Regions from separate parts of the Homo sapiens genome. Here all the other regions are linked to region 4. The links are contacts of gene promoters, found by promoter capture Hi-C in blood cells and fetal thymus (Javierre and others, 2016). All regions are on one chromosome and are shown on one strand. Each heading gives the region's core, a stretch centred on a gene start or on the middle of the fragment in contact. The rest is flanking DNA. Distances are from core to core; before and after follow the strand shown.

Region 1 (3,460 bases), core at 770-3,269, 280 kb before region 4:
AGGCTGAGGCAGGAGAATCGCTTGAAACTGGGAGGTAGAGATTGCAGTCAGCCGAAATCACGCCACTGCACTCCAGCCTGGGCGACAAGAGCAAAACTCTGTCTTGAAAAAAAAAAAAAAAAGAAAATGAAAAAGTCGAGAGAGCGAGGGTAAGTATAGGCAGGGCAGGTGTGTTAATGGGCTACCTTCTCAGTGATGCCATTGAACTTAGCCAGGATGTTGAAGAGTGGCACTTGGGGAATGATGAGCTGCTCCTTCTCGTCCTTGTAGAGGGGGGCAGTAGGAAGGTCCAGCGTCAGGTACATAAAAGTGGACTCCACCATTGTCTCCTGGTACTCGTCATTATGGAGCAACTGCTCTTTTTCTTCTGCTGGCTAGAAATGAATGAGAAGAAAAGAGAGGAAAGGAGTGTGACGGGTATAGGAACCAACACAGAACCGATGTTTTACCACGCCGACATTTCCTTCATCTGAAAGAACAAAGAGAAGTGCCCGAGAGATTGGGCAGTTTGGCATGCACCACCTGGTTAGATTAACTTAAGAACCAACAGGTTTCCTTCTTTAAAGATATTTTGCTTATATACCAGACTATCTAAAAAGCCCTGAGGCCAAGTGTGATGGCTCACGGCTGTAATCTCAACACTTTGGGAACAAAGGTGAGAGGACTGCTTGAGTCCAGGACTTCCAGACCAGCCTGGGCAACACAGTGAGACTCCATCTCTACAAAAAAAAAAAAAAATTGGCCGGGCATGATGGCTCACACCTGTAATCCCAGCACTTTGGGAGGCCGAGGCAGGTAGATCACCTGAGGTCAGGAGTCCAAGACCAACGTGACCAACACGGAGAAACCCCGTCTCTACTAAAAATACAAAATAAGCCGGGCGTGGTGGTGGCGCCTGTAATCCTAGCTACTCGGGAGGCTGAGGCAGGAGAATCACCTGAACTCGGGAGGCGGAGGTTGCGGTGAGCCGAGATAGTGCCATTGCACTCCAGCCTGGGCAACAAGAGTGAAACTCCGTCTCAATAAAATAAATAAATTAATTAATTAATTAAATTAAACAAAAATAAAAATAAAAATTAGCCCGGTGTGGTGGTGTGTATCTATGGTCCCAGTTTCTGGGGAGGTTGAGGTGGGAGGATCACTTCAGCAAGGGAGGTTGAGGTTGCAGTGAACCATAATCACGCCACCACACTCAGCCTGAGTGACAGAGATCTTGTCTCAAAAAGGAAAAAAAATCCATTAAAAAAAGAAAGTGGGCCGAGCACGGTGGCTCATGTCTGTAATCCCAGCACTTTGGGAGGCCAAGGGAGGTGGATCACCTAAGGTCAGGAGTTTGAGACCATCCTGACCAACATGGTAAAACCTCTTCTCTACTAAAAATAGAAAAATTAGCCAGGCATAGTGGCGCATGCCTGTAATCCCAGCTACTTCGGAGGCTGAGGCAGGAGAATGGTTTGAACCTGGGAGGTGGAGGTTGCAGTGAGCTGAGATCATGCCATTGCACTCCAGACTGGTCAACAAGAGCAAAACTCCATCTCAAAAAAGAAAAGCTCTAAGACCATCTAGGAAGCTTAGCTGAGGGCCAGGCACGGTGACTCACGCCTGTAATCCCAGCACTTTGGGAGGCCGAGGCAGGTAGATCACCTGAGGTCAGGAGTTCGAGACCAGCCTGGACCAACATGGTGAAGCCCCGTCACAACTAAAAATACAAAATTAGCTGGGCGTGGTGGCAAGCGCCTGTAATCACAGCCACTCAGGAGGCTAAGGCAGGAGAATCGCTTGAACCCAGGAGGTAGAGGTTGCAGTGAGCTGAGATGGCGCCACTGCAACTCCAGCCTTGGCGACAGAGGGAGACTAAGAAAAACAAAAAGAAAGCTTAGCTGAGCTTTCTGAAAAAACACAGCAGCACCACCTAGTGGCCAGAACACTTAAACCAGCACAGTACATCCAACCACTAACTCCCAAACTGAAAAAGTGCACTAGTATGACAGGGACCAGGCAGAGCTGCCACTAGGCAGGTGCTTTGTTGAACCTCTTCACAGGGCAAGCAGGCTTGTCAGTTCTCTGAGCATCTCTTCATCTCCCCTACGTCCCCTCAAGCAATATGAATCAGTCCAAGACCCAGGCTCAATTAACTCACCAGATCAGGATGGGGAAGCTTTTTAGTGAAGATCCTCATGGACCCCTGGAAAACATCAGTCACAATAGCTGCACAAACAGGAAGCAAGAGACAAATTCCGTGAGGATGGAAAACATGTCTGAAGTATATTTCCAGCTTCTAAATTTCTGAAATAAACCAGCATCTTCCAGCAAAAGACACAGAGCTCTCACTAAACACAGAAGTTTCCTTTTGTACTATATACCACCAGGGTACCTTTATAATTATTTGTGTAAATAATTACTTTATTTCTCTTAAGACAACTTTTTATCCTCCATCACAGGGCCTGGTCCATAAAAGAAAAGGTAAATGTGTTCAAAATGAAGGAATGGTGATACATGAATTACAAAAAAATTCACAAGCAAAACAAGGTACAGCCAAGGAACTTCCCATAACCATAAGCTACTTTCAAAGGGAGACAATGTCCAAACTGTAATGAAGACAAGAGGACAATGACAGACTAAGAGATGGGCCAGAACAGGATCAAAGCAACAAGAGAGAAAGCACAACCAAGTTCTAGAACCCTGCCAAGACGCAAGTTAGAGAGCTCAGAGGGTTAACACAGGCTGAAGACACCTGGTAGAGAGGGCAGGGCCATCCAGTGGGAAAAGCAACAGGCCACAATCCCACATCAAGACACCATCACATCTATAATCCTAGCACTTTGGGCAGATCACCTGAGGTCAGGAGTTTGAGACCAGCCTGGCCAACATGGAGAAATCCCATCTCTACTAAAAATACAAAAATCAGCTGGGCGTGGTAGTGGGTGCCTGTAATCCCAGCTACCCTTGGGAGACTGAGGGAGAAGAACTGCTTGAACCTGGGAGATGGAGGCTACAGTGAGCTGAGACCGTGCCACTGCATAGCCTAGGTGACAGAGCAAGACTCTGTCTCAAAATATATATATAATAAAATATCATTGGGACTATAACCATATTCTAGCAAAAACTATGGAGAGGGGCCTATTCAGAAAGAACATGTAGTTTATCTATAACATAGATACTAGCCTACCCCAGATAAACAGTTAACAAAAGAATGGGAAGTTGCCTCAGCCTCCCAAGTCGCTGGGACTACAGGCACATCCCACCACACCTGAATAACTTTTGTATTTTTGGTAGAGATGGGGTTTCGCCATGTTGGCCAGGCCGGTCTCAAACTCCTGACCTCAGGTAATCCACCCACCTCGGCCTCTCAAAGAGCTGGGATTATAGGCATGAGCCATTGCGACCGACCGCAAAGTTTTTTAAAAGGGAACAAAATAACTCCTTTTTATAAGTAAATGACTTACTCTTCTTTTTCTTC
Region 2 (3,562 bases), core at 432-2,931, 260 kb after region 4:
TCCAACAATGATAGACTGGATTAAGAAAATGTGGCACATACACACCATGGAATACTATGCAGCCATAAAAAATGATGAGTTCATGTCCTTTGTAGGGACATGGATGAAATTGGAAATCATCATTCTCAGTAAACTATCGCAAGGACAAAAAACCAAACACCGCATGTTCTCACTCATAGATGGGAATTGAACAATGAGAACACATGGACACAGGAAGGGGAACATCACACTCTGGGGACTGTTGTGGGGTGGGGGGAAGGGGGAGCGATAGCATTAGGAGATATACCTAATGCTAAATGACGAGTTAATGGGTGCAGCACACCACCATGGCACATGTATACATATGTAACTAACCTGCACATTGTGCACATGTACCCTAAAACTTAAAGTATAATAATAATAAAAAAAAGAAAAAGAATGGAGATTATCTCAGGTAAATGGTTTATAAATAAACTTTTGCCTTCTTTCTTAAAAAACAAAACAAAACAAAACAAAAAACAAAAACACAGAGGGCCTTATTGCACTTTGGGGGAGCAAAATCCTCCCATTTCTCATGCTGCATATTGTTCTAGAGTCCATTCAACTCTAAGTTGCAAAGTCATATTGCAAAGAAGCCTGCATACAGGAAAGAGAGGGATTTGTAACCATTTTTAAAAATCTACCACTAGCAGGAATATTTTGTTGTGCCAGGAAGCACAGAAACTGTCAAAGACTAATGAAGTCATTTGAAAAGGACATATGAGACAACTTGAGGGGGCTTCACTGGCCTAACATGGAAAAATTAGGATTTGTTTTTAAATACTCAAGAAAAGTCCAGGCACAGTGGCTCATGCCTATAATCCCACAGCTTTGGGAGGCTGAGGCAAGGGAGGATCACTTGAAGCCAGGAGTTCAAGACCAAACTGGGCAACATAGTGAGACCCTATCTCTAAAAATAAATAAATAATTAACCGGGCATGGTGACATGTGCCTGTAGTCCCAACTACTTGGGAGGCTGAGGTGGGAGGATTGCTTGAGCCAGAGAGGTCGAGGCTGCAGTGAGCCATGGTTGTGTCACTGCACTCTGGCCTGGGTGGCAGAGTGAGACCCTGTCCCAATAAAATAAAACAAAATACTGAAGAAAAAACAAAATTGGAGTGTGGAGAGATAAAACAGGTTTGACAGAATGTTGAGAATAGCCAAAGCTTAGTGATGGACAGAGGAAGATTAATTTTTTTTAGTCTCTTTACTTTTGGTATGTTTGACATTTTTCTTAATAAGAATTTTCAAAAAGTCACATGTATTTAGGACAAAAAAATTTAGAAAACACAGAAATGTAAAAAGTGAAAAATAATTGGTTAATCCCACCACTCAGAGATAAGTGTTGGTAATACCGGACTGTCCTTCTAGGCTGTTCCTATTCATATTTGCAAACTGTGGCCTCCCAGCCTTGCTCAGAATGTCACTAACCATTGTTGTCTTAGTCTGTTTTGTGCTGCGATAGCAGAATACCACACACTGGCTAATTTGTAACAAACAGAAATTTATTTGGTTCATGGTTCTGGAGGCTGGGAAGTCCAAGATTGAGGAATGCATCTGGCGAGGGTTTCTTGCTGCGTCATAACATGACTGAAGGTATTGCATGGTGAGAGAAGGCAAGAGATTGAATTTGCAGTCTCAAGCTCTTTTAAAATTGGCATGAATCTATTCATAAGGGTGGAGCCCTCATGATCTAAACTGCTCCCATTGGGCCCCGTCTCCCAATACTGCTGCACTGGGGATTACATTTCCAACACATACTTTTTGGGGGACACATTCAAGCCATAGCAATCGTTAAGTAAACACAGCCTTCTGCGACACACCAGGGAGCTGTGCCTCATGGTTACTGGTAGGAGAAGCAACTTGCTTGCACATTGTTACCTGTAATTTGGATCCTATGGACTTGGCACTGTGGCTTTGGGTCCCATGTCTGAAACCCTTTTTTGTTTTGTGCGTTTTTTGTTTGTTTGTTTTGTTTTGCCCTGACTCAGGATCTTAACACTTTGGGAGGCAGATCCCTTCTGGCCCTTAGGGAGATCTCTTCTGAAACCTGTTTAGCTGCCTATTTCTGGGCAGGCCGCCACAACTACAAAGGGAATTGTGAGTATGCCACAAACCTATATTTGAATGCAACCTATCCTAAGCATACCCTAAGCTTCCCTTTCCTTTTCACATTATTAGGTAATAAGAAGACTGAAATGTTGAAATGTTGTTTAATTTATATGGATTTATTTTACAAATGTCACCAAATCAGAACCATATTCTACTTTTTCCACCTTACATATCCTGGGAATATTTTTGTGTGCTATTAAATATATATATATCTATATATATATATATATTTTTTTTGAGATGGAGTTTTGCTCTTGTCACCCAGGCTGGAGTGCAATGGCACGATCTCAGCTCACGGCAACATCCGCCTCCAAGGTTCAAGTGATTCTCCTGCCTCAGCCTCCCATGTAGCTGGGAATACAGGCGCCTGCCACCACACCTGGCTAATTTTTGTATTTTTTGTAGAGACAGGGTTTCACCATGTTGGCCAGACTGGTCTTGAACTCCTGACCTCAGGTGATCTGCCCGCCTCAGTCTCCCAAAGTGCTGGGGACAGGTGTGAGCCACCACGCCCGGCCTTAAATATACTTTCTAATATGATATTTTGTGCTGGCATAATTTTCTGAAGTTGCGTGTTATACATTCAAATTATTTTCCACAGCAATTTTCACAGCTCTAAATAATGCCACAATGAATATTTTTATAAATAAATCTTCCACTACCTCTCTGTCTCTTAGAATAGGTTCCTCGATATGGAATTACTGAATCAAGGCATTTGAACATTCATTTAAAACTCTTCATATGCATCTTGTTTTATGTTAAAATGTTGCCAATGTGATATGTGAAAAAATGATATTTTCCTTTTTTTTTTTCTTGAGACAGCAGGTTTCTCTGTCACCCAGGCTGGGGTTCAGTGATGCAATCATAGCTCGCTGCAGCCTTGATCTCCTGGGCTCAAGCAGTCCTCCTGCCTCAGCCTCCCAAGTAGCTGGGACTATAGGCACGCACCACCATACCTGGCTAGTGTTTTATTTTTTGTAGAGACGGGGGTCTCACTATATTGCCTAGACTGGTCTCTAACTCCTGTGCTCAAGCGATTCTCCCTCCTTAGCCTCCCAAAGTGCTGGGATTACAGGCATGGGCCGCAGCATCTGGCTGATTTGCTTTTCTTTGATCACTGGTGAAACAAACAAACGAAAGCATTTTAATGATTTTGGCGAAAGGTCAGGAGACATTAAGTGAAAAAGGACCCAGAACTCACTCTTTTGAATGACAATTTCTATAATATGACCTGCCACTACTTTAGCACTTGGTAGGAATTAGTATTAGAACATTGGAGCTGGACAGATTTGGGCTTGAAGTCCAGCACCTTCCAGATGTAACCTTGCGCAGATTCCTCACCCCATTTCTTCAACCTGTGGGAAGGGAGTCATAGGAGTCCCCGCCATCCTGTGTGCCGTGGCAATTTCATGAAGTCAAGTCTTAGCTTTTG
Region 3 (3,719 bases), core at 859-3,358, 300 kb before region 4:
AGAAAAAGACACCGTCCTTTAAAGTGCTGCAGTATGGCCAGACGTGGTGGCTCACACCTGCAATCCCAGCACCTTAGGAGGCCGAGGCAGGAGGATCCTTGAGGTCAGGAGTTCGAGACCAGCCTCGCCAACATGGTGAAACCCCATTTCTACTAAAAATACAAAAAATTAGCCAAGTGTGGTGGCATATGCCTGTAATCCCAACTACTCAGAAGGCCGAGGCAGGAGAATTACTTGAACGCAGGAGAATCACTGCAGCCCAGGAGGCAGAGGTTGCAGTGAGCCGAGATTGCACCACTGCACTCCAGCCTGGGTGACAGAGCAAGACTCCATCTCAGTAAATAAATAAATAAATAAAAAGCGCTGCAGTAGCTGTGGCCTCACCCTGAAGTCAGCGGGCCCAGGCCTACCTCACTCTCTCCCTTGGCAGAGAAGCAGACGTCCATAGCTCCTCTCCCTCACAAGCGCTCCCAGCCTGCCCTCCAGCTGCTGCTCTCCCCTCCCAGTCTCTACTCACTGGGATGAGGTTAGGTCATGAGGACACCAAAAACCTAAAAATAAACAAAAAGCCAAACAAGCCTTAGCTTTTCTTAAAGACTGAAATGCCTGGAAGTGTCCCTTTATTTATAAAATAACTTTTGTCATATTTCTTATACATGTTTCTTGTAAGAAATTCAGAAACTACAGACAAAGAGAGTGGAAATTACCCACTGTCAGGCCTCTGAGCCCAAGCTAAGCCATCATATCCCCTGTGCCCTGCACGTATACACCCAGATGGCCTGAAGCAACTGAAGATCCACAAAAGAAGTGAAAATAGCCAGTTCCTGCCTTAACTGATGACATTCCACCATTGTGATTTGTTCCTGCCCCACCCTAACTGATCAATTGACCTTGTGACAATACACCTTCCCCACCCTTGAGAAGGTGCTTTGTAATATTCTCCCCACCCACCCCACGCCCGCACCCCCGCACCCTTAAGAAGGTATTTTGTAATATTCTCTCCGCCATTGAGAATGTGCTTTGTAAGATCCACCCCCTGCCCACAAAAAATTGCTCCTAACTCCACCGCCTATCCCAAACCTACAAGAACTAATGATAATCCCACCACCCTTTGCTGACTCTTTTTGGACTCAGCCCACCTGCACCCAGGTGATTAAAAAGCTTTATTGTTCACACAAAGCCTGTTTGGTAGTCTCTTCACAGGGAAGCATGTGACACCCACAATCCCACCTAGCCCAGGAGAGAGCTACGGCAGGGTGTGTGTTTTGACACTGAGCTTGGGGCTTTTTCCATCTTCTCCCCACAGCCTCTGGCTCCACACCTCCACCGTTCAAGCGCCAGAAAGAGCTGTCTATGCAGCCTGCTCTTGGGCCTGGGGATGAGACACACAATTCATTGGCTCCTGGATTTTAAGTAGACATTTGTAAATCTATAGCTAACTACTGTCCTTAAAGCCATTGTTTCCATTACAAAATCCAACTCTCTGAGAGAAAAGGGTGTTTTAAATTTAAAAAAATAAAAACAAAAAAGTTTGATTGAGACAATGAAGAGCCAATGTTTGAAGAACTGGAGGCATTAATAGTTTATCCCAAAAATATGAGTGGGAATGAGTGCCTGATAATGAAAAAGGCGGCTTCATTCAAAAGGAGGTCAAGAATTGGCAGACTTTGGGAGGCTGAGGTGAGTGAATCACTTGAGCCCAGGAGTTCAAGACCAGACTGGGCAACGTGGCAAAACACCATCTCTATAAAAAATATAAAAATTTGGCTGGGCATGGTGGCTCACACCTGTAATCCTAGCACTTTTGGAGGCTGAGGTGGGTGGATCACTTGAGGTTAGGAGTTCCAGACCAGCCTAACATGGTGAAACCACATATCTACTAAAAAAAATACAAAATTAGCTGGATGTGGTAGTGCATGCCTGTTATCCCAGCTACTTGGAAGGCTGAGACAGGAGAATTGCTTGAACCCAGGAGGCAGAGGCTGCAGTGAGCCAGGATTGCGCCACTGCACTCCAGCCTGGGCAACAAGAGCAAAACTCTGTCTAAAAGAAAAAAAAAAAAGATACAAACATTAGCTGGCCATGGTGGTGTGTGTCTGTGGTCCCAGCTATTCAGGAGGCTGAGGTGGGAGGATCGCCTGAATCCAGGTCAAGGCTGCAGTGAGCCGTGATGATGCCACTGCACTCCACCCTGGGTGACACAGAGAGATCCTATTTCAAAAACAAATAAATAAATAATTTTAAAAAAGAGTTGACTAGCTGGTAGGAGGACAGAATTGGCAGGAAGTGGCTACACTTGAGACTCCTAGGGTCCCTGAGAAGTGTCCAACATCCTGCACCTCTGCCCTTAGGAAGTTGGGGGAAGAGAAGTCCCAGGAGGGATTATAGCCCAAGAGGAGGGGACTTATTCTTCACTTTCCAGGGTGTGGGCTTCTAAGAGAAGCCTGCCTCTCACAGGACATCAGAAAGGGTGAGGACGCTAGCCTGAGGGATGGAGCTAGGCAGCTGGCCTGAGGTCTGCCTCACAGAGTGTTCCCAGTGTGATGTGGTTGCAGAAGAGCAACCTCAACCCACAGACCGAGAGGCAGTCAGAATTGGCTCTGGACAAGATGGTGCACCCGTAAGAGCCCACGGTTGGGGATGAATCTGTGACAGATTTAGTGGATCTTGAGATGAGCAGAAATCAGATGTGTAGCAGTGATGGCACAAGAAGATGATGATCAGGCAAGACGAGAGACACTCCAGAGAGACCTGGATGGCCAGGGAATGCTTAGTCCCCAGTGCCTCTCCTCACCGCAGGGCAATCTGTAAATCATTCCCAGGGAAAGGGGAAAGAGGATTCAGTGGTTAGTCAGCCAAGAGAGGCTGAGTATTAAGAAGGGAATGAGTTACTCCGAAATGGAAATAATATGTTTTGAGGGCTCATGAGCCAAAATGAGTTCAGTTATAGAGAAATAAAGATAATTACATTATGTCCCCCTAATGAATAACTGAAATTTTAAATCCACGACATAATCATTATTAACATGTTATTATCTATAATTCCAAAGCTTTCTGTGCACATATACAAAAACAGATACAGCAGATCTACAAAATGGAAACATCCTATACATGCTGCTTTGTAACCTGCACTGTTCATTTAACAATAACCTTTTCAGGTCAATAAATGTAAGTATCTACTATTATTGCTAATTGCCACATGACAGCTCTGTCTCCCAGGCTAGAGTGCAGTGGTGCGATCACTCTGGGGTTTAAGCAATCCTCCTGCCTCTGCCTCCCTAAGTGCTGGGACTACAGGCGTCAGATACCATGGCTGGCCCTTACTTTTTTTTTTTTTTTTTTTTGAGACAAGAGTCTCACTCTGTCATCCAGGCTGGATTGCAGTGGCGTGATCTCAGCTCACTGCAAGCTCCGCATCCCAGGTTCATGCCATTCTCCTGCCTCAGCCTCCTGAGTAGCTGGGACTACAGGAGCCCGCCACCACGCCCAGCTAATTTTTTTTTTTTTTTTTTTTTGTATTTTTACTAGACACGGGGTTTCACTGTGTTAGCCAAGATGGTCTTGATCTCCTGAACTCGTGATCCACCCGCCTCAGCCTCCCAAAGTGCTGGGATTACAGGCGTGAGCCACCGCGCACGGCCGGCCCTTTCTTTTTTAAGCAACTATTATCAACGATTTGCAAAAAATAAAAATCCTCGCACTTACATCTTTGTTTGTCT
Region 4 (3,334 bases), core at 835-3,334:
CACGCTCGGCCTGTTGACAAAATTTAAGCAGCTGTGAATTTATTCTGAATGAACAACTTGCCTCAGCCAAATGCTTACCTCTTACTACCCAAGCCACAGGATGGCCAAAAGGGGACCACACAGGGGACTGTGAGCTGGATTCTGTGTCCAAAAGGCAGCAGCACCACTAGAAGGGATGGGGTCTGTTTCTGACAATGGAGTTACTGGGACCTGGGCCAGCTTATCAAAGGCGTGAGGCTAAAGGTGTCACCTTGGTGGGTGGTCTTAGCTGAAGTGCTCAGGCTTTGTTTAGGCCTCACACACAGGCTGGGTCAGGGGCTTATAATACTAGACCTGGTTCCAACAATGGTAGAAATTCAAAATGCAACACGATGTTCTAACCTTTCTCAGTTATCAGCAATACTGTGCATGTGGCAGCTGGCTAGCCAGTTTGGGCAATTCTAAGTCTTTCATCTGACATTGCTTCCCTCAGGAAAAGGGCTGGACAAGGCTCATACCTCATCACAGGGGAATTGGACATCCGGAATGTCTGTCACATCAAAAATTGCATCCTAAGTGGGCAGATGGCCCACACACAACTGACAATCATAGTTCACAACTTTGGGTGACTAAGGAAGGAGGGTAGCCTCTCTATGAGGTCAGCCCTCCAGGATGCCATAAAAACTGGCTGCTGGTGTCAGGATGCTTTGATTATTAACACTGAGAGGAAGAATACCTCCTGGCTCTTGGGCTTGACATGTGGCTCACTGTAATCCGGGGGACAGGGCAATGCCCCCTTAGTCCTGGCACCCCAGGAACTAAACTGCTCTCACTGTGGCCTCTGGGGCCTCAACATCTGCCTCCCCTTTCCTTTTCCTCCATCATGGCCTCCATGACAGCCTATGACAAAACACACATTGGCCAGCCTTGGCAAGGTGACAGGCGGGTATGGTAATAGCAATCTCAGGAGGGCTCTTCTGTTGCTGTGTAGAAAATGAACCAAGTAGCATAGAATCGTGACCAGCTTTCCACACCTGGCTGGAGCACTCCTGGGGCCTTCAGTAGGGACAGTTACTATCTGTAGCAGAGAAGAAAAGAGCAACAATTCCATTAAACAAGGAAGTACTCAAAGGCAAATTCCTGATAGTTGGACCTAAGGAAACGGCCTTCCTGTAAAAATGGATCCTTCTCCAATCAAGTATTCATTATGCACCCTCTTTAGGCAAGGAGGGGGTATGATTCTTCAACTGCTTGCTGGAGGTTAGATTCTCTGCATAGGAATTTAAATTAGATGGGCCCTTAGCTGATCCTTTCACCATGCTTGTCCATGGGCGGCTCCCCGTCCCCCAGGTTCCCCACGGATGGGGTGTCATTAGGGACCCGCCATAGAGGACTCCGTCCCAGGCGGGCCCCCAGGACAAAACTATGGGCCACTTTGAGGGGCACAGAGACAGACGCTCACCGGTTGTGATGCGCAGGTAACAGAGAGCTCAATTCATCATGACAACCAGTCAGACAGGGGCTGTGAGCAGCCTTTGGACAGAACTTTCGCATAGCCTGGAGGCGTAAGACGAGGAAAGCAATTTAACACCTCAAGGCAGCGAGTCCAGGGCAGAGCCAGGACCAGAACTCAGGACTCCTGTCTCCCAGTCGGGATTCTCTTTCAGTCTTACAACTCTCGGCCTTGTCTCGCCCCATAGTGATAATTTCCACCGGATCACATTCTCCCTCCCTCCTCAGGCCGGCTGCTAGCTCCGCACAGGCACCAACCACTCCCCTTGGCAAGTGTTAACGCGTTCTCACCGTTAAAAGAGCTTTCCAAACTTGGGGGTCCCGCCGCCTCGGCTAGGCCTCATCTGCTCATGCGCACAGCCGCTTCCGTGCCGGCTCCCCTGGCCCCGAGAACTACATTTCCCAGTAGGCAATGGAAACCCAAAAGAAGTACGGAGAGCCGGGAGGGTCAATCATCACCTGAGAGTTGGCTCTTCGCTGGCTGGCTGGTTAATCAGTGCTCAAAGCTGCCTCCGCCTCCTGACTGGAGAGCGAACTAGCCCGGGCGGAGCCACAGTCCTAGAGGCTGAGCGCAGTCGGAGCTGTCCCATTTACCCGACCCGACGCCGGCGTGATGTGGCTTCCGCTGGTGCTGCTCCTGGCTGTGCTGCTGCTGGCCGTCCTCTGCAAAGTTTACTTGGGACTATTCTCTGGCAGCTCCCCGAATCCTTTCTCCGAAGATGTCAAACGGCCCCCAGCGCCCCTGGTAACTGACAAGGAGGCCAGGAAGAAGGTTCTCAAACAAGGTAGCAGGAGGGACCCTGGGGTCCGGGGCTGCACTCGAGGCTTTCTCACAGATTTGGGTTCTCATTTTGCCAAGGCAGCCGCTACCAGACGTGGGCCTTAGTTTCCCCATATGTAAAGTACTAGGAGGGCTTCCTTGCACGTGGAGGAGCCCCGCTTTAGTGTGCAACACTGTCGATAGCCTTTGCCCTAGTAGGCCCCGGGAATAGTAGTCCCAAGGGTGTGGTCATTGTCCTTGGTTTGCAAGGTGTTGGCACCCGCCCTGCCACTTGTAATCCCCGTGGCTCGTGGAACTGATAATCCCCGTGACTCATTCCTCCACTTGGTTCCAGGACCTTAACTTTTTCACCTACCCTCCCATGCGAGCTCAGGGGTGTGGGGGAGCAGCACAGAAATGCGTAGGAAATTGCGTTTTGCCCGTCCGGTGATTTAACAGGCTTTGCATGGTCCCAAATCGTAAGGATTGAACCCTAGTTCTGAAACATTGGCAGAGGTTCAACAAGGCGCCTCAGGCTCAGAGCCTGCTCTCCACTCTCATCTTTAAAACATATTTTGTGGTTGCTTCTAGAGTTTAAAGAGTTCTGCTGCTTTAAAAAATAATGGATCACCTGTTTGATCTACGGAGTCCCTCTCACTTGTAAATTTTAGAATTCTCCGTGTCATATCTTGCTACACAATCGGAGACAGTACTGTTCTAAGTGGAAGGACTAATCATCTGGACTTCTGAGAACTGAGTTTTAGCTTGGACTCTGTCACTAATTTGCTGCATAACCATTAGCACCTACCTGGGCTGGTCTAAAAATGAGATGACTAGCTTAACTGCTTTTCAAACCGGATTGTGATCTATTAGTGGGCTATGAAATCAATTTAGTGAGTTGCAACTGGCATTATTTATTTATTTATTGAAACAGAGTCTCGCTCTATTGTCCATGCTAGAGTGCAGTGGCGCGATCTCCGCTCACCGCAACTTCCGCCTCCTGGGTTCAAGTGATTATCCTGCCTCAGCCTCCCGAGTAGTGGGCATGCCCAGCTAATTTTTGTATTTTTAGTAGAGACAGGG
Region 5 (3,529 bases), core at 254-2,753, 360 kb before region 4:
CACCTCCTTTATATCTCTAAGGCCCTGAGCCCTCTCCTGCCATTAAGCTTTTGCATGTGTTGTTCCCTCTGCCTGGAACACCTTCCTATCCCCCCACTATTCACTTAGCTGGCCCCTTCTCATCCTTCGAGCCTCAGCTTCAGTGGTATTTCTCCAGAGAGCCCCTTCCCTTACCACCCAACTACACTGCACCCAGTTCACTTCCTTATGAGCTCTTACCACAAGTCAGAATTATATTTTTTTCATGTTTATTTTCTTGTCGATGCACTCAGTTGTAAGCTCTATGGGGGCCACATCGGCCCTTACTAAGAATTTGTTGAATGGAGAAGTGACTTGATGAGAAGGCTGTTGCAAAGGGTAATTAATGCCTGAAGCAATTGTAAAGTTGTGGTGGTGATGGGGGTAGGAAATATTGACCAACTCCAACTCCCCAGTGAGACGGCTTCTTCCAGGCTACCGTGGACTAAACTTGCAAGGCTTTCTCCTCGCTTCAGAAGCTAAAGTGCCTCTGAGATACTGCGGGTTCTCCAGAGGGCTCAGCCTGGGTTCTGTCCTACCTTGGCTCTGACAGCTCAACTGGTGAGACCTCAACCTGGAGCAGGTCCAGCCAGAGCCAAGGAGCAGGCAGCCAGCACCAGAGGAGAGGCAGCCAGCTGCTGCCATCATGAGAGATGCCTGGCCAGCTCTCTAGAAATAGCCCAAGGTCAAGGCAGGGTGCTTCTGACCTCTACAGATGGCAAAACCTGGAGAGACTCTGTTCTTGAATCTCTCTCCCACTCCACTGCCAGGATCCCTGCCCCTGGCCTGGAGCACCCTGATTTTCAGCCACCCTTCACAGACCCCTCCATTCATCACTGCTTACAAGGAACCCCCAGGCTTCTAACCTTTTCTCCTCCCAACACACTTCTGGGGTGCAGAGGACGGGTGTTATCCTCAGCTTGCAGTAAAGGGCTCTGTGGCTCAGGGAGGTGCACGGTCTCTTCCAAGGTCATGTGGTGAGTTTACTGCTGAACTGGAATTCAAATTTAGAGCTCCATTCCAGGTTCAGCGTCTCACCCCATCAGTATCTGCCACACGTGGGATGTGCCTAAGTCTCACAGCCCCGCTCAAGTATCTGACCTAATCTATGTGTCACTTACTGGGAGGGTGAGGGCAAGGTCCTTGCTTTGTGGACTTTGACCCCCTTCCCTGGACTTAGGAGAACCTTTCTGTCTTAAGCTGCCAGCCCTAGCTGATTTTCCCAGGAGCCAGCTCTTGCGTGCCCAAATCCATGGCGTTCATCTTCACCTCTGGTTACTCTGCCTGCTTGACCAGCTCACTCGCCAGACCTCACTGCTGGCCCGACCACCTGAGCCCACTGTCCCCACACCCACAGGACACCCCCTCCATGAACAAGGAAGGCCGAGGACCCTGGGGACCCAGCCACAGCTTCATAGGCCACTTGTTCTGAGCAGGGCTCTCCGTCTCCCTTCTCTTGGAGGTTCCCACAGCCTGGGGAGGAAGGAGCAAAGATGCAAATCAGGGGACCATAAGGACTGTACAGGAGCAGATTCAGGGAGGAAAGCCACCTCAAGGGACCAGGACAGGCCAGGCAAGGTGGCTCACGCCTGTAATCCCAGCACTTTGGGAGGCCTAGGCGGGCAGATCACGAGGTCAGGAGATGGAGACCATCCTGGCTAACACGGTGAAACCCTGTCTCTGCTAAAAATACAAAAAAATTAGCCAGGTGTGATGGCGGGCGCCTGTAGTCCCAGCTACGTGGGAGGCTGAGGCAGGAGAATGGCGTGAACCCGGGAGGAGGAGCTTGCAGTGAGCCAAGACCACGCCACTGCACTCCAGCCTGGGCAACAGAGTGAGACACTGTCTCAAAAAAAAAAAAAAAAAAGGGACCAGGACAGGACAGGCAGCTGGGAGAGGGAGAAGAGAAGCCCACAGAGGTAGGTGGCTGTCCCTATGAATAGGACAGGACAGGGCAGGCAGCTAGTAGGATTTTTATCAATCAGATGACAGCAGACAGAGGAGAGAAAGGAATTAAGAGAGAATAAAAAGTGGAAATTTTTTGGAGAATAGTGTTTGTCGTCAAAGGACATTCAATAGATCCAAGTAAAAGCTGATAGAATGTCCTCCATCAGACAACCCTCAGAACATGAACCACCCGTGGTATGTCTTGAAAATATGGAGATTCCATGCCCATAGGTGTCGCAAGTGCACTGCAAGCTCTAGTGGCCCCTTCACATGGTCGTGATGGGGAATTTGAACATCTATGACTGTTCTCTGGCAAGTGGTGGTCGGGTGTCTAAAGCGGGGAAGGATATCTTTTCTGAATCTGTTGGGCTACTGACAGGGCTTCAAACAGGTACTTCTAGGAAGTTTGAAATCAATATTTGCCCTTCCGAAGTGAAAAGATTTGTAGTGCACACTTGCCTGCTTGACTCATTTGCATGGCAGCCCTTTCCTCCTAGAGCATGGAAAGGTTGAAATGGATTCGCATCTGTTCTTAATTACAGAGGCCGAGACAGATGTTATCTTACATGCTAGGGAGGGGCACTCACCAACACTGTGCTGTCGACAGCAACAATAACTCCCAGGCCTTTTGTGCAATATATTAATTTGGAAATTATTGACAACTCCTATCTTGCGTGACGTAACGTGGCAAGTGTACACAAAGTCTTCTTGAGTTGTCTTCGTCACTAGCCAGCCTCATGACTCTTTTCTCCCTGTGTCTGTACTTCCCAAGACAGCATCTCTGTTCCTCCCGTTTAATTGCACATTGGCATTGAAGAAGCCATTCACATCCAACACTGCAAGCTGTCATAGACATGCTCTGAAAAATGCGTTTTTAGAGTCTTTAATATACTCACGTGCACCGCCAATCACCAAAAACAGAGCAGGCAATGTTTCCCATATCTATTTGACCACCGGTAAGATAAGGGCCTCCCATGAGCTGAAGGGAAGCTTCCTACTTAAAGCAGGGATTAAAGCATTAAACAAAAGAGTGACTGAGGAGGGCTCAGAACCATGAGGGAGGCTGCGGGGGGCAGCCCTGTGACACCACCCGTGGAGGCCGTCTGATTCCTGACCAGCAGTTTTAAAAGATGTATTTATATATAGTGTGCATGCATATGTGTGTGTTACACTTTTAATTGACAAATAAGAAATGATATTTATTTATAGTTTACAACATGATACTTTGATATACGTACACACTGTGGAATGAGTAAATCAAACATATTTATCATCCCACATACTTAACCATTTTTTGTGGTGAGAACATTTAAAATCTACTGTCTTCGACTAGCTTATTGAAGTGGGGCGAAAAAACTAAGAAAATAAATAAATAATAATGTTTAGAATCTACTCTCAGCAATCTTCAAGTATATGATATGTTATTATTAACTGCAGTCTCCATGCTCTACAAGAAAACTCCAGAACTTATCCTCTGACCAGCAGTTTCTGGTTGACACAAAGACCTATTTCCAGAAGTTTCTTGAAGATACCATCAGGAAAGTAAATAGCAAATAGAATGGTT
Region 6 (3,587 bases), core at 600-3,099, 310 kb after region 4:
AGGTAACCACCACAGCACACAGTTTAAGAGCTGAATCCTTCTAGAATGCCTCCTGAAGGCAGGAGTTACTGTGGACAGAGAATGCAAATGCATACGAATATTAACCCAGACTGAATTATGTTTGAAGTAAAACTTAAATTGTCTTTAAAATTATTTGCATAATAGACTAATTTAGTGAAGCTTTCTCTTAGTATTTAATGAAGTGGTTTATCTGTGGGCCCAATTATAATATAAGCTCTCTCAATATGTGTTCCATGGAAGCAGGGATGAGGTCTACTGTTGACTATATTCCCAGCTATCAGAACAGGGCCTGATATAGCAGGAATTCAAACATTTACTGAATGACTGAATGAATTATTAGGATTCAGTCCAAGAGGCCTGGATCATTTCTGATGGTGGCCCTTGCACACTCTCTGCCTCTGCTTTCTCCCTCTAGTACCTTCTGGTACTGCTGTTTCAGAGTACCACTGCAGTAGATACCACTACCAGTGCTCAGCAAGGCTGACTGGCTCCTGAGAACCTGCTGCATCTGACTGTACAGCCTACTTAGTGGCCTGTTATGATCCAGACTGTCTTGTGTCCATAAGGCTGTACTCATTAAGAGAGGTGTAAACTTTTGTCCCCGCATCCTCATCTAAGTAAGGTACAGTGAAATGCCTTCTTCCAAGTGGAGGGTCCACCTCGCTTATAGGGAATCGATGACTGCCTTGCAGACACTTTCAGGCCAGCAAAAACTCTTTATCATTAAAACTCATTAACAGTTTGTTTTCTTGCTCACTGTTGCTTTATCCCAGGCTTTTTATAGCACTCTTATACCACTCTTTCATGGAATATACAGTCTATCACTAAAATAAACTAATTTTCACTGACAGAAAAAAAATCAAATGAAGAAAATTTCTCAATTTTGAATTTTGCTCCCAGAAACTACTTTAATTTTTAGTGCCTGCCACCAAAATAGCAGGTAAATATTCCCTTTGGATGAAGAAATATTTTTTAAATCCCCCAAACTCAGTTTATTAGGCTTGTTTTTGTTGTTGCACACACAAATGTCCAAAGCACATTTGGAATTAAAATTTTATATGGTATATCTAACTTTTAAATAACATGATAGGTATAAAATTGTTCTTAGGTTGTTTTTCTTTTTTAAATTTTTATTTTAGGTTTGGGGGTACATGTGAAGGTCCGTTACACAGTTAAACACCTGCCACGAGGGTTTGTCATACATATTATTACATCACCCAGGACCCAATTAAGCCCAGTACCCAACAGTTATCTTTCTGCTCCTCTCTCTCTTGCTACCCTCCCCCAGTGTCTGCTGTCTCCTCCTTTGTGTTCCTAAGTTGTCATTTAGCTCTGATGTTCTCAGTTTCTATTACAGATTTACACTTATCAATGTTTCAGGTGTTCTGCAGGGTGCTCATGGCTTCCAGGTAGGTGCACACTTCACCACATGGACACATTTCAGAATTGTTGCTTTAAATGTGTGCACACTTCCCACTGTCTTACCACTTGTCTGCTTGGTGTGTCTTGCAGATTATCAGGCTACAGTGATTTCTTGTATTTTATTTTGACCCTGTGTTCTGCTACCAACTTCCTAGGTTTGTCATGTACTAGACTCAGTGACATGGCCAGGTTCAAAAACTGTGTTTTTTTTTTTTTTTTTAAGATTTTTCCCAAGCTATTAAACATGTACCTTTCAGTATGTTCTACAACAATATAGTTCTCAAATCAAGGTCAGGACATTAAGTCCTACTTTCCTTTCTTCCATGAGAAGAGCTTAATTCTTTAGTCTTTTCAATTAGCTATAGATAACAGTTCTGAAATGTGTCCATGTGGTGGAATGTGTACCTGGAAGCCATGAGGCGCCTTGCACAACATCTGAGATAGGCATAAATCTGTGACAGAATTTTACACATAACATGTTCTTAAAAATGTTAGCTATACCTTATAAAACCTTAATTTCAAATGTGCTTTGGACATTTTTTTATGTGTACTTATGGAGATTTAACCATGACATTTTGGAGGTATTCAAGTTGAAATCTTTTATGATTTCCTTGGGCTTCAATAGAGGCCACAAATACAACATAAAACCATTTCTTATCATCTTTTGTCTCTAAGAACAGTAGTCTCCCTTTACCTGCAGGAGATACGTTCCAAAACCCCCAGTGAATGGCTGAAATGGGCATTTGGATAATACAGAACCCTATACATACTATGTTTTTTCCTATACATACTTATCTGTTGTGCTAAAGTTTAATTTATAAATTAGGCACCTAATTTATAAATTAGGAACATGAGATTCCCAACAAAATAGAGTAAATCTAAAAATATACTATGAAAGTTATGTGATGTGGTCTCTCTCTAAGTATCTTATTGTCCTGTACTCACCTATTTTTTGACTGTAGTTGGTTGTGGGTAACTGAAACCCAGGAAAGCAAAACCACATGACGGGGGGACTACTGGACTTAAGCAATGCCAGAAGAGTATGAATTACTTTATGTTAAGTGTCTGCTTTTAACACATTTTACACTTTTAATGTATTTGGGAATTTTGTGAAGGAACATGGCTTATGATCAGAGAGGTGAGACTTAAGAACACAAATCTCACAAAAAGTTTTTTTTTTTTTTTTTGAGACAGGGTCTCACTCCATCACCCAGGCTGGACTGCAGTGGTGCGATCTCGGCTCCCTGGAACCTCCACCTTTCAGGCTCAAGCGATTCTCATGCCTCAGCATCCAGAGTAGCTGCGATTACAGGCACCCACCACCAAATCTGGCTAATTTTTTTATTTTTAGTAGAGATGGAGTTTTGCCATGTTGGCCAGGCTGGTCTTGAATTCCTGGCCTCAAGTGATCCACCCGCTCCAGCCTCCCAGAGTGCTGGGATTAAAGGTGTGAGCCACCGCACCTGGCATCACAAAAAGTTTTAAAAGGAGCTCCTCCTTCCCCTGCCATTTCCCTTATTAATGTGAAACTAACTTACCAGCTATAGGATCCATGGCTTCCCTATTGCTTGGAGAATATGAACTCTGAGAAGAAGAAAGTCCACCAGTAGAACTGCTAGTAAAGTGCATGTTTGATCTACGAGCACGAGGACCTCCTAATCCCCGGCCAGGGTGAAACATTCTACGTACATGTCGAACACCACTCGATTCATCATAACCCAAAAGTTAAGAAAAAAACGAAAGTATTTCACAGAAAGAAAAAAAATCACCTGAGTCCTTGCTAGACAGATGTAAAGATTTCCTGAATTGTAAGCATTTAAAAACAGCACATTTAACTTAAAGTGCAAATGTCCCAACTCTATCTATGAGGGCTATTAACCCTAAAAAGACACTCAAATGTAAGGCAACATGTGAGTGTGTGTGTGTGTATTGGGTGTGTGAGGTAAAAAAGTTTCTCTATATAGCTCATGAAATCTCAAATACCACCTATAATGAAAAAGGAACAATACTGAATGTATATTCAGCACATCAAAGGTTCCTTTTGGATTATTAGTTTTACTCTGTCTTCAAGCTTCTTTCCAATGCCGCTGCTAAGCAGAAAACAGATTTGCATTTCTTGTATAAGACACACAGATAGATTAACA

What was found. The method cuts DNA at HindIII sites, captures the fragments that hold promoters and counts their contacts. A CHiCAGO score of 5 or more calls a contact.
Region 1: a fragment that was not itself captured here is called in contact with the fragment with the promoter of RETSAT in region 4 in 9 of 17 cell types (erythroblasts, M1 macrophages, total B cells and 6 more); the score reaches 9.7 in erythroblasts.
Region 2: a contact is called between a fragment that was not itself captured here and the fragment with the promoter of RETSAT in region 4, in 1 of 17 cell types (endothelial precursors). The highest score is 7.1, in endothelial precursors.
Region 3: a fragment that was not itself captured here is called in contact with the fragment with the promoter of RETSAT in region 4 in 1 of 17 cell types (M1 macrophages); the score reaches 5.7 in M1 macrophages.
Region 5: a fragment that was not itself captured here is called in contact with the fragment with the promoter of RETSAT in region 4 in 1 of 17 cell types (erythroblasts); the score reaches 5.5 in erythroblasts.
Region 6: a fragment that was not itself captured here is called in contact with the fragment with the promoter of RETSAT in region 4 in 1 of 17 cell types (endothelial precursors); the score reaches 5.3 in endothelial precursors.

Annotation. Positions count from the first base shown.
Region 1 is chr2:85,636,117-85,639,576 of GRCh38, reverse strand. USP39 (ubiquitin specific peptidase 39) reads right to left here. Exons shown (of 13, transcript NM_006590.4): 7 at 3,447-3,460; 8 at 2,141-2,208; 9 at 186-374. Among named protein-coding and RNA genes, the nearest start is that of USP39, 22 kb to the right of the region's middle. The HindIII fragment of the contact is 283 bases long and covers 1,878-2,160 here.
Region 2 is chr2:85,090,558-85,094,119 of GRCh38, reverse strand. No RefSeq gene overlaps it. Among named protein-coding and RNA genes, the nearest start is that of LINC01964, 25 kb to the right of the region's middle. The HindIII fragment of the contact is 989 bases long and covers 1,187-2,175 here.
Region 3 is chr2:85,655,139-85,658,857 of GRCh38, reverse strand. SFTPB (surfactant protein B) reads left to right here. Exons shown (of 11, transcript NM_000542.5): 11 at 1-1,544. Among named protein-coding and RNA genes, the nearest start is that of SFTPB, 11 kb to the left of the region's middle. The HindIII fragment of the contact is 1,889 bases long and covers 1,164-3,052 here.
Region 4 is chr2:85,353,278-85,356,611 of GRCh38, reverse strand. It overlaps RETSAT (retinol saturase), which reads left to right and starts at 2,084. Exons shown (of 11, transcript NM_017750.4): 1 at 2,084-2,276. The coding sequence starts at 2,105. ELMOD3 (ELMO domain containing 3) reads right to left here and starts at 1,843. Exons shown (of 14, transcript NM_001135022.2): 1 at 1,783-1,843; 2 at 1,442-1,536; 3 at 1,014-1,057. RefSeq lists enhancers at 1,387-1,446, 1,081-1,580, 1,617-2,016, 1,581-2,082. The HindIII fragment of the contact is 19,367 bases long and covers 1-3,334 here.
Region 5 is chr2:85,716,916-85,720,444 of GRCh38, reverse strand. It overlaps LOC124907851 (a long non-coding RNA gene), which reads right to left. Exons shown (of 2, transcript XR_007087118.1): 2 at 3,138-3,529. Among named protein-coding and RNA genes, the nearest start is that of GNLY, 24 kb to the right of the region's middle. The HindIII fragment of the contact is 2,908 bases long and covers 50-2,957 here.
Region 6 is chr2:85,045,673-85,049,259 of GRCh38, reverse strand. KCMF1 (potassium channel modulatory factor 1) reads right to left here. Exons shown (of 7, transcript NM_020122.5): 5 at 2,982-3,156. Among named protein-coding and RNA genes, the nearest start is that of LINC01964, 20 kb to the left of the region's middle. The HindIII fragment of the contact is 3,334 bases long and covers 183-3,516 here.